Linked DNA regions of Homo sapiens: region 2 is linked to region 1. Evidence: promoter capture Hi-C in human tissues and cell types (Jung and others, 2019). All regions are on one chromosome and are shown on one strand. Each heading gives the region's core, a stretch centred on a gene start or on the middle of the fragment in contact. The rest is flanking DNA. Distances are from core to core; before and after follow the strand shown.

Region 1 (4,040 bases), core at 966-3,465:
GTCCAGCCCATTAATAGAATTAAAATTTGCTTCTGTATTCCAAGTAATTAGCACTTTGCATCTATTTTATTTATTGCTACTACTAAGAAAACATAACCGTGAAGGCATAAAAGCAAACATTTTCTGTAGACACATGAGGTGACACAAGAGTGTTGAAACTTCTTTAAGGATAAAGGCCTGATGTTAGGCATGTCGTGAGCGCAAAACCAATTTCTGTGTAACTAAATTTAAAAGAGTCATATTAGAGGGGAGAAATGGAAGATAAACTGCAAAACGTAAACAATGATTACTTAGGTGATAGAGTTATGTCTGATCTTTGTATTTGACTCATCTGCATTTATAAATTTTATTTAATAAGCCTTAATTTCCTAGGCCATATATCATATACAAATATAAGTTATACCTAACTTATAGGTATTATAATATGTATATATACATAAATGTATGAATATTTACATATGCGTGTGTGTGTGTATTCTTTCAGAAAAGCAAAGTTTTCTTCGGGCTTTAAACACGCAGCCTCTGGTAAAGGTGCTATTGGTACAAAAGTTCAACAAGCATAGCTCCAAGCTTTGACAATTTTCTTACACTTTACTAATACTGCTGTCCAAAAACTATGAGATTTTCAAAGCAGCCAACATTGCAGTGGTGCAATGGTTAATAACAAGAGAGAGAAGAGTGTGGCCTGAGGTTGTATAAATGTTTTCTCAATCTTGAATCATTAATTTTCTCCAAGGAAGTTTCTAAAGAATCCCAAATAGTGCACACTATTTCTGAAAGGAACAGGATTTTTTTTTCTAATCATAAAATGGACCCAGACATCTCAGCCTCTTGGTGTAATCTGGATATCAGATGCAATCAGCGAACAGCCTGAGTTTTGGAATTAGATCTGAGTTCAATCCCATATCTCCCATTTACTAGCTGTGTGATCTTGGCTGAATTACTGAAGCTCTCTGAACCTCATTTCGCCATCTGTAAAATGGGGATGTGGTTATCTTCCCCACTACATGGCTCTCGTGAGAATCCGCGGAGATCACATTTGTAAACACTTCTCTCGCTATGCCTGGCACTTTGTTGGGGCCCAATAAAATAAAAATCCATGGACTCTCAGAGGCTCCGGTACTCAAATGAGCCTCCTGGATCCACGTCTCTTTGATTAGCCATCTGCAAGCTGGCATTTCTGAGCGAGGGACTTTTCAAAACAGGCTGCTCAAGTTTCTTGGCCAATAATAGGCGCCGGGTTCTGTGCGGTGGGAACGAGTACCACCAACCCCAGCAGGAGACCAAGCAGAAATCACCATGGGAGTGCAAGCTAAGAAAGGGCAAAAGAAGAAAGAGAAGGGCAGAAAAACAAAACAAAATGAAACCACTCAGGCAGCGACTTACAGTCTTAAAGAGAGAATTCCCGGAAGGGAGACAAGGCAGTTTCTTTTTCTGTGTGACAATAAAAAACGGTAAACAAGCCTCCAGAAGCTCATTCAGCCCCCATATAACTTTTTCGAGAAAGAAAAGGTGCCGTTCTTCCGAGCCCTCCGGCTTAACCACTGCTTCGGTGCTGACTTATTTCCTACGTCTGAGAACTGCCAGAAAATGAGCAATATCTGTTCTGAAGGCTGCAGGCTCTCTCCCCGCCCCCGCGGGGCGGCGCGCACTCACCCACCCGCGCCGGAGCGGACCTTTGGCTTGGCTTGTCAGGGCTTGTCCAGGAGTTCCGCTCCTCTCTCCAACCGGGGTCCCCCTCCAGCGACCCTAAAGCTTCCCAGACTTCCGCTTCAATTCCTGTCCGCACCCCACGCCCACCTCAACGTGGAGCGCAGTGGTCTCCGAGGAGCGCCGGAGCTGCCCCGCCTGCCCAGCGGGGTCAGCACTTCGCATCAAGGCCCAAGAAAAGCAAGTCCTCCAGCGTTCTGAGCACCCGGGCCTGAGGGAAGGTCCTAACAGCCCCCGGGAGCCAGTCTCCAACGCCTCCCGCAGCAGCCCGCCGCTCCCAGGTGCCCGCGTGCGCCGCTGCCGCCGCAATCCCGCACGCGTCCCGCGCCCGCCCCACTTTGCCTATCCCCGGGACTAAGACGGGGTAAGCCTCCACCCGGGCAGGAGAGGGCTCACCAGAGGTAGGAGGGTCCAGATGCCCAGCATGGTTGTTGAGCAATCCTCCGAAGTGAAAGAGCTTCCCCAACTCCGTACTGAGCGGGTCCACCAACCCGCGGGAGAAGAGGCAGCTCCGCCTGGGCAGCCAGGGCTGGCCTCAGGGTGTGTTCCGTGCCAGTGCCCGCCCCTGAGGCTCCAGCCAAGTCACTCGTAAACCGCTTCCCTCACTCCCCAGAAGCGTCTTTGAACACCTGTGTGTCACTCTTGCGCGAGATCAGAGACGAGCTCACGAAAAGCCCCGGTGGTCAGGAGGATGGGAAGGAAGCCTCGCTGGGGAACGCCCGGGTTGGGGAGGGCTCCATTGATTCAGCAACTTGGCCTGCGCGCGGGTAGGGAGGGGGAGAAGTCAGGGTGAGGAAGGAGTCAGGGTTCGTTGCACAAATGGGCATTCCTGTCCCGGGGCGTTCCTGCAGTGGCTGGCATGCTCACTTCAGGTGAGGACCTCGAGAGCCGGCCTCCTGCCCTTTCTAAAGGCTTCTGCTGTAGTTCAACCTGGGAAGTTGGGGAGGTCTTGAAGGAGAATGGAGCTCAGAGCGCAGAGGTCCTGCCTGGGTACAGGAGCCTTGGCTAATTGCTGGAGTCACTCAGAGAAAGACTTGCGGGGCATTTGACTGGGCTGTCCATGTTGTGGCTGCAACATGAGAGGCTCACAGACGTTTCTGGAATGGACAGTTAACCATATGAAAAAGTACAGATGTTGCGCCATAGGGCTCTGAAAAGGGAGGGCCCCTTAGTTTTTATTTCTCAAGAGGAAAACAAAGCTAACAACTTAAGCCAAATCGCATAGCCCCAGCTATATTAAACATTCACAATTACTTCCTGTCCTTCGTTACTCATTATTTCCTGGCCAATTTTCTTTAAAAAAAAATCTTGTAATTCTTTCGTGCTCTGGTGAACACTGTTCAAAGTCACTATTGCTTTGGAACGGTAGATAGCTCTTAGGTAGTTTAGCATGAATTTTACAGAAGGTATGTTTGGATAATGACATCATTACTGAACCTGAATTTGGATGCAGTTCCAGACTGGACACACTAAAGGTTTCAGTATTCCTTTGGCATCGTCCACCAAGCTCTGCACCTCACTCTGCAACCTCTCTCCCTTCCCAATTAGATTCAACCCATTAATAACACATTAATAACCCTTTGCTTAGCCCACTGTTCATCCTTCAGGCTTCCTCTCAGTTGACATTTTCTTCTGGAGCCTGTTTGGGCCCTCAAATCTAGGTTAGGTTACCCTCCTGAGGGCTTTCCATCACCCTGTGTTTTGCATCTGTCACTGCACTTACCACCAGTCTTGTAGGTGTTGATAGGCTTGTCTCTGTTCCACCTTTCAGTAGACTGTTAGTGCCATGAGGAAGACCCTGGGCGTGCCAGCCTTGTGCACACACTCTGAGCATCTAATAGACACAAAAAGAAGTGGGATAAGGAGGATGGTATATGGGCATTCTCTGTATTATCTCTGCAAATTTTTTGAAATCCTAAAACTATTCCAAAATGAAAAGTTCATTTAAATAAAAAAATGTAAAAAGAAGGAAGGAAAAGGGGTGTGAGGGAAGGAAAGGAGAGGTAAGGGAAGAAGGAATGGAAGGAGGGAAGAGAGAAAAAAAGGGGAAAGGACAATTGACAAAATCAGTATCTCTTGAGTGTGAATTATAAGCCAGCAACTCACATATGTGGATCTTCCTTACTTAATACTTATCATTATAGCCCAGTGAGATGAGTGATTATTAAACTTACTTTACAAATAAAAAAATGTAGCCAAAAAAGCTTAAGCAACATTGGCAAAGATGGTTAGTTAATAAATAGCAGAGTCAGGAATTAAACTTAGATATTCTTGCTCCCAAGGTCCTGCTCTTTCTATGCCATACCCCCTTCCCCTACCCTCTGCCCACG
Region 2 (4,040 bases), core at 438-2,937, 190 kb before region 1:
AAAATTACATTCAAATGCTTACAACATTTGTAGATACTTAAAAAAAGTAGAGAGTTGTAATATAGTCTAAAAAATATACACCAAAATTTTAAAAGAGGTAGTCTCTGGATAATAAAGTTATAATGGTTTCTTTATATGTTCTTTCCTTATATTTTCAATTTTTCAAAAAACACAAGCATATATTACTTATATATTAAAGGAAATATAAATGTTGCATAAAAACAATTTAATAATAACTGCTAATAATTGTCAACTTTATCTGCATCAAGCTCTGTGCTCAGTACTCTACACATTGTCTATTTTTAACCCCCTCCAAAGACCCTTTGAGAGTAGAACTTGGTCTGTCCACAAGGTTAATTGTCCTTAACCAATTAAGGAACAGGTTTATCTAGGTTCAGTGACTTACCTAAGTTTGAATATGTGAAATATATGGCAAAGCTGAGATTTAAAATGTGAGACAAAGCAGCAAACCTATGTTTGCTCACTTCTGCTCTCCAGCATAATTTCACACAGCCCCTGACTCTATGAGCAGCTCTATGGAAGAATGCTCTGAAGACAAAGCAGGATAGAGCACCTGGCCCCTCATGTCTCTTTCCCAAGTCACTACATCCTTAAAAGATATATAATCCTAGTCCTTGCCTTTTCCTACTCATAAGATAATGTCTGACAGAGTTAGTGACTATGCCTCTGTAATCTATAACCAGATGTACTCTTGCACCTAAACTTTAGGTGATTCTGCTTTAATGTAACTTCTGAACAAATTTGATGTAACTTCTGAACACATACTGAACTTCCACTACCTTTGTGTAAGCTGTGAGCTGGAATACTGTGTCAGAGCCGTCTGACAGAACCTCTCTGATGGGCGCTTCCAGGGCTGTAGTTCTCAACTGATAGCCCTCAAGGCTTCTGAAAACAAGCTTTAATGAATAAACACATTAATTAATTAATTAATTAATTAATAAAACATATGTTAATTTTTTAAAACATTGCTATTTTCTTTAGTCAACAGAATTCAGGTTTCTTGTGACCCTAGGGCTTTTGTCCTTGATTCTATTAATAGAATCAGAACACTTCTTCAACTCTTATTGTTGTCAAATCCTAATACCCTTTATGGGATATCTCTAAAATATCTCTCCAACATGGCAAATTCTGAATTATTTCAAGCATCAGATATTTCCTTCACATTTTACCATCTTACTCCTCTTTTTTTAAACCTAGAATATCAGGAAATTAATCTTTTGAGCAAATGACAAGAAAAATGATTCTCAGGTTCATTCTCATTTGTCAGGACTTTTTAGATAGCCTAAGAGCCTGGCTGAGAATTAATGAATGTCAGAAAATTAGGTATTTTCACAAATTTTTTATTTTGATTTTTCTTGTGAATTACGTCTCCCTTTCTAAAAGGACAGAACTCACATACTTTTGATTGAATAACAGTTCTTTGGACAAGTTCTGTTTAATGGAAGACTTATTATGTTCCCTATGGGAGAGAAGTCAATGAGATATTTATACACAAAGGTGATATTAAAAATATCTAACATCAAACACAGCACAGGTACTAAGCAATCAGAATGGTGGTCTTCCGCATTTTAGAGGCCGCTCCTAGACCTTCAGCTGATAGACAATGGAGAGTTCTAGGAGGGTGCGTGGCTAGAGGCAGAGGACAGGGCAGCCAAGGCAATGGGAAGACACTCATCGTGGGTAGGACTAGTAGTTACTTACTAAGGAGTGTGGAAGTACATTTGATTCTTGTTATTCATAATGGTATGTTCTATAAAGTTGCTATAAGCACTGAATTAGTAAATCCTGAACCATTGCTCCTAGGGGAAATATAGGGTTGGGTTCCTGAGAGCTTCTGATCACAAGATTTTTTGTCAACTGACCAATAGATAACCTTGTTTTATGTGTGTTTCTGTTTAAAACCACCTTATTTAAGACATATTATTGATTCATTAACATTAAACATGGCCAATAGCACTATAACTCATGTCTGAAGTAAGCTTTTCTAATACATGTATTTTCTCCATAAGGCACAGCATAGCCTCCTTTTATTTAGGATCACTAGAAAGCACTTTGGCATTATGCTTGGGGCGATTTTAAACAGCAAAATCACCAACAAAAACACAAAAGTGTGAAAAACGTGGCACTAAATAGACCATAGCAAGGACATGTGTTTACAGAAAGAGAGCTAATGCAAGAAGATAGAACATTGCCTTGTTTGACCTCAGCTGGGAATGTGCCCAATGGGTGACTCAAATATTTTGCTGCTCTGAGCATGTCCACAAATGACAATGAAAGTGCCATGATTATTGATTTTTGAGGTTACATATACATTTTAGCAAGTAGGAATCTGTGAAGAATGAGGATGACTGATTTCAATATTTTAAAATCCAATAAAGCCATACTTGTGTACGGAGCTAAAGATCAGCAATGGCATAGGATTCCATGGCCTTGGACAGCTTAGCTGTGCTCTGTGAAGCTGACCTTCTCCCTCGGACCTTAGACCACCATCTATGCCTCCAGTCTGGCAAATTACTCCTTCCTTTTCCCCATTTAAACTCATCTTAAAAGCCTGTCAAAAATTAAACTTCCTCCATAAGGTCACCCTTGATAATTTTATATTAACCCCCTAACTCCCATCATAAATACCACTCTAATGATATCTTGCTTCTCAGCAATGGAACTCCTTCTTCTACACCTACTCAAGGGTTACAGTAGAGTTAATTTTTGGGGACTGTGGCCTCTCATTTCATGTCTCCCTTACCCCCACCAAAATGCTCCCTTCTTCCACAGAGTTCAGTAAAATAAATTTTTAGGCAGCCATAAAATGCAAAAGCTTTTATGGGCTGCTGGGTTAAAACTTACATTCATAGATTAAAGCTTCATTGAGTTCATTTAGCCTAAAACTTTAACCCATAAATCTCTTTCTTTTCTTTTTCTTTCTTGCTTTCTTTCTTTTTTTTTTTGAGATGGAGTTTCCCTCTTGTTGCCCAGGCTGGAGTGCAATGGTGCAATCTCAGCTCACTGCAACCTCCACCTCCTGGGTTCAAGTGATTATCCTGCCTCAGCCTCCCAAGTAGCTGGGATTACAGGCATGAGCCGCCATGCCCGGCTAATTTTGGATTTTTAATAGAGACGGGGTTTCTCTATGTTGGTCAGGCTGGTCTCGAACTCTCAACCTCAGGTGATCCGCCTGCCTCGGTATCCCAAAGTGCTGGGATTACAGGCGTAAGCCACCACACCCGGTCCCATAAATCTCTTTCTTAACAGATCTAATTGAATTCTACTGCAGACTTCACAGTTCCTTAAGCTCTGAATTTTGATTTGGGTGCTTACATTGACATCTCTAATCCAGTTCAAAACCACTTTTCTCTCCAACTTGGCTGTAAACCTCATTGTGGGGGAAGGACCATGTGTGCCATGTTTACCATGGAATCTCCAGTGACCTGTACAAAATAAATGAATATAGTCACTTAAACTTCAGTGTACAGATTCTATTCTCAGGTTGTTCTGAACCTGGTTAAGCAAATCTGAGTCTGCCTTCCTTGACACAAAGTGGTTACTTGTCACACATTCTGAGTCTTCTCAACACAACCCGCTTTGAGATTTTTATTACTCCCTGCCCGCCCCTTGTCATAGCACTTAATACACAATGTTTTGTGTTATTGTGATTTGTGTTCACTTAGCATCTCCTCTTCAGCACTATTAACACCTCAAAGGCAGGAATTGTGTTTCAGTGGCCTTCCACTCTCACGATAGTCCTCAATGCCTAGCATGTATGTAGGTATATTTTCACTAATTTATTAATTCATTCACCAAATGCGCACCTACCATGGGCCAGACACTGTTCTAAACACTAGAATATAGTTGTGAGTTAAAAAACATTCCAGCCTTCCTAGAACTTACATCATAGTGGGGGAGACAGGCAATAACCAAGATGAATGTGTACATTTCACACTATGTTACAGACTACCTAGTGCTAAGGGGAGTAAATAGCAAGGGAGGAGTAGAGGAGAGTTTGGCCAAGGTGGTGGGGTTGT

Evidence for each region. Contacts are between HindIII fragments. The study calls those that stand out against the background at their distance.
Region 2: a fragment that was not itself captured here is called in contact with the fragment with the promoter of FAS in region 1 in 1 of the 25 tissues and cell types used here (H1 embryonic stem cells).

The regions. Positions count from the first base shown.
Region 1 is chr10:88,988,973-88,993,012 of GRCh38, reverse strand. FAS (Fas cell surface death receptor) reads right to left here and starts at 2,215. Exons shown (of 9, transcript NM_000043.6): 1 at 2,107-2,215. The coding sequence starts at 2,136. It overlaps FAS-AS1 (FAS antisense RNA 1), which reads left to right and starts at 38. Exons shown (of 1, transcript NR_028371.1): 1 at 38-1,591. It also overlaps a transcript of ACTA2 not described here. RefSeq lists enhancers at 1,280-1,359, 1,490-1,899, 2,040-2,550, 2,551-3,062 and a silencer at 3,470-3,519. The HindIII fragment of the contact is 1,672 bases long and covers 1,164-2,835 here.
Region 2 is chr10:89,178,701-89,182,740 of GRCh38, reverse strand. LOC105378418 (a long non-coding RNA gene) reads right to left here and starts at 3,459. Exons shown (of 4, transcript XR_946180.4): 1 at 3,337-3,459; 2 at 801-917. The HindIII fragment of the contact is 3,582 bases long and covers 1-3,478 here.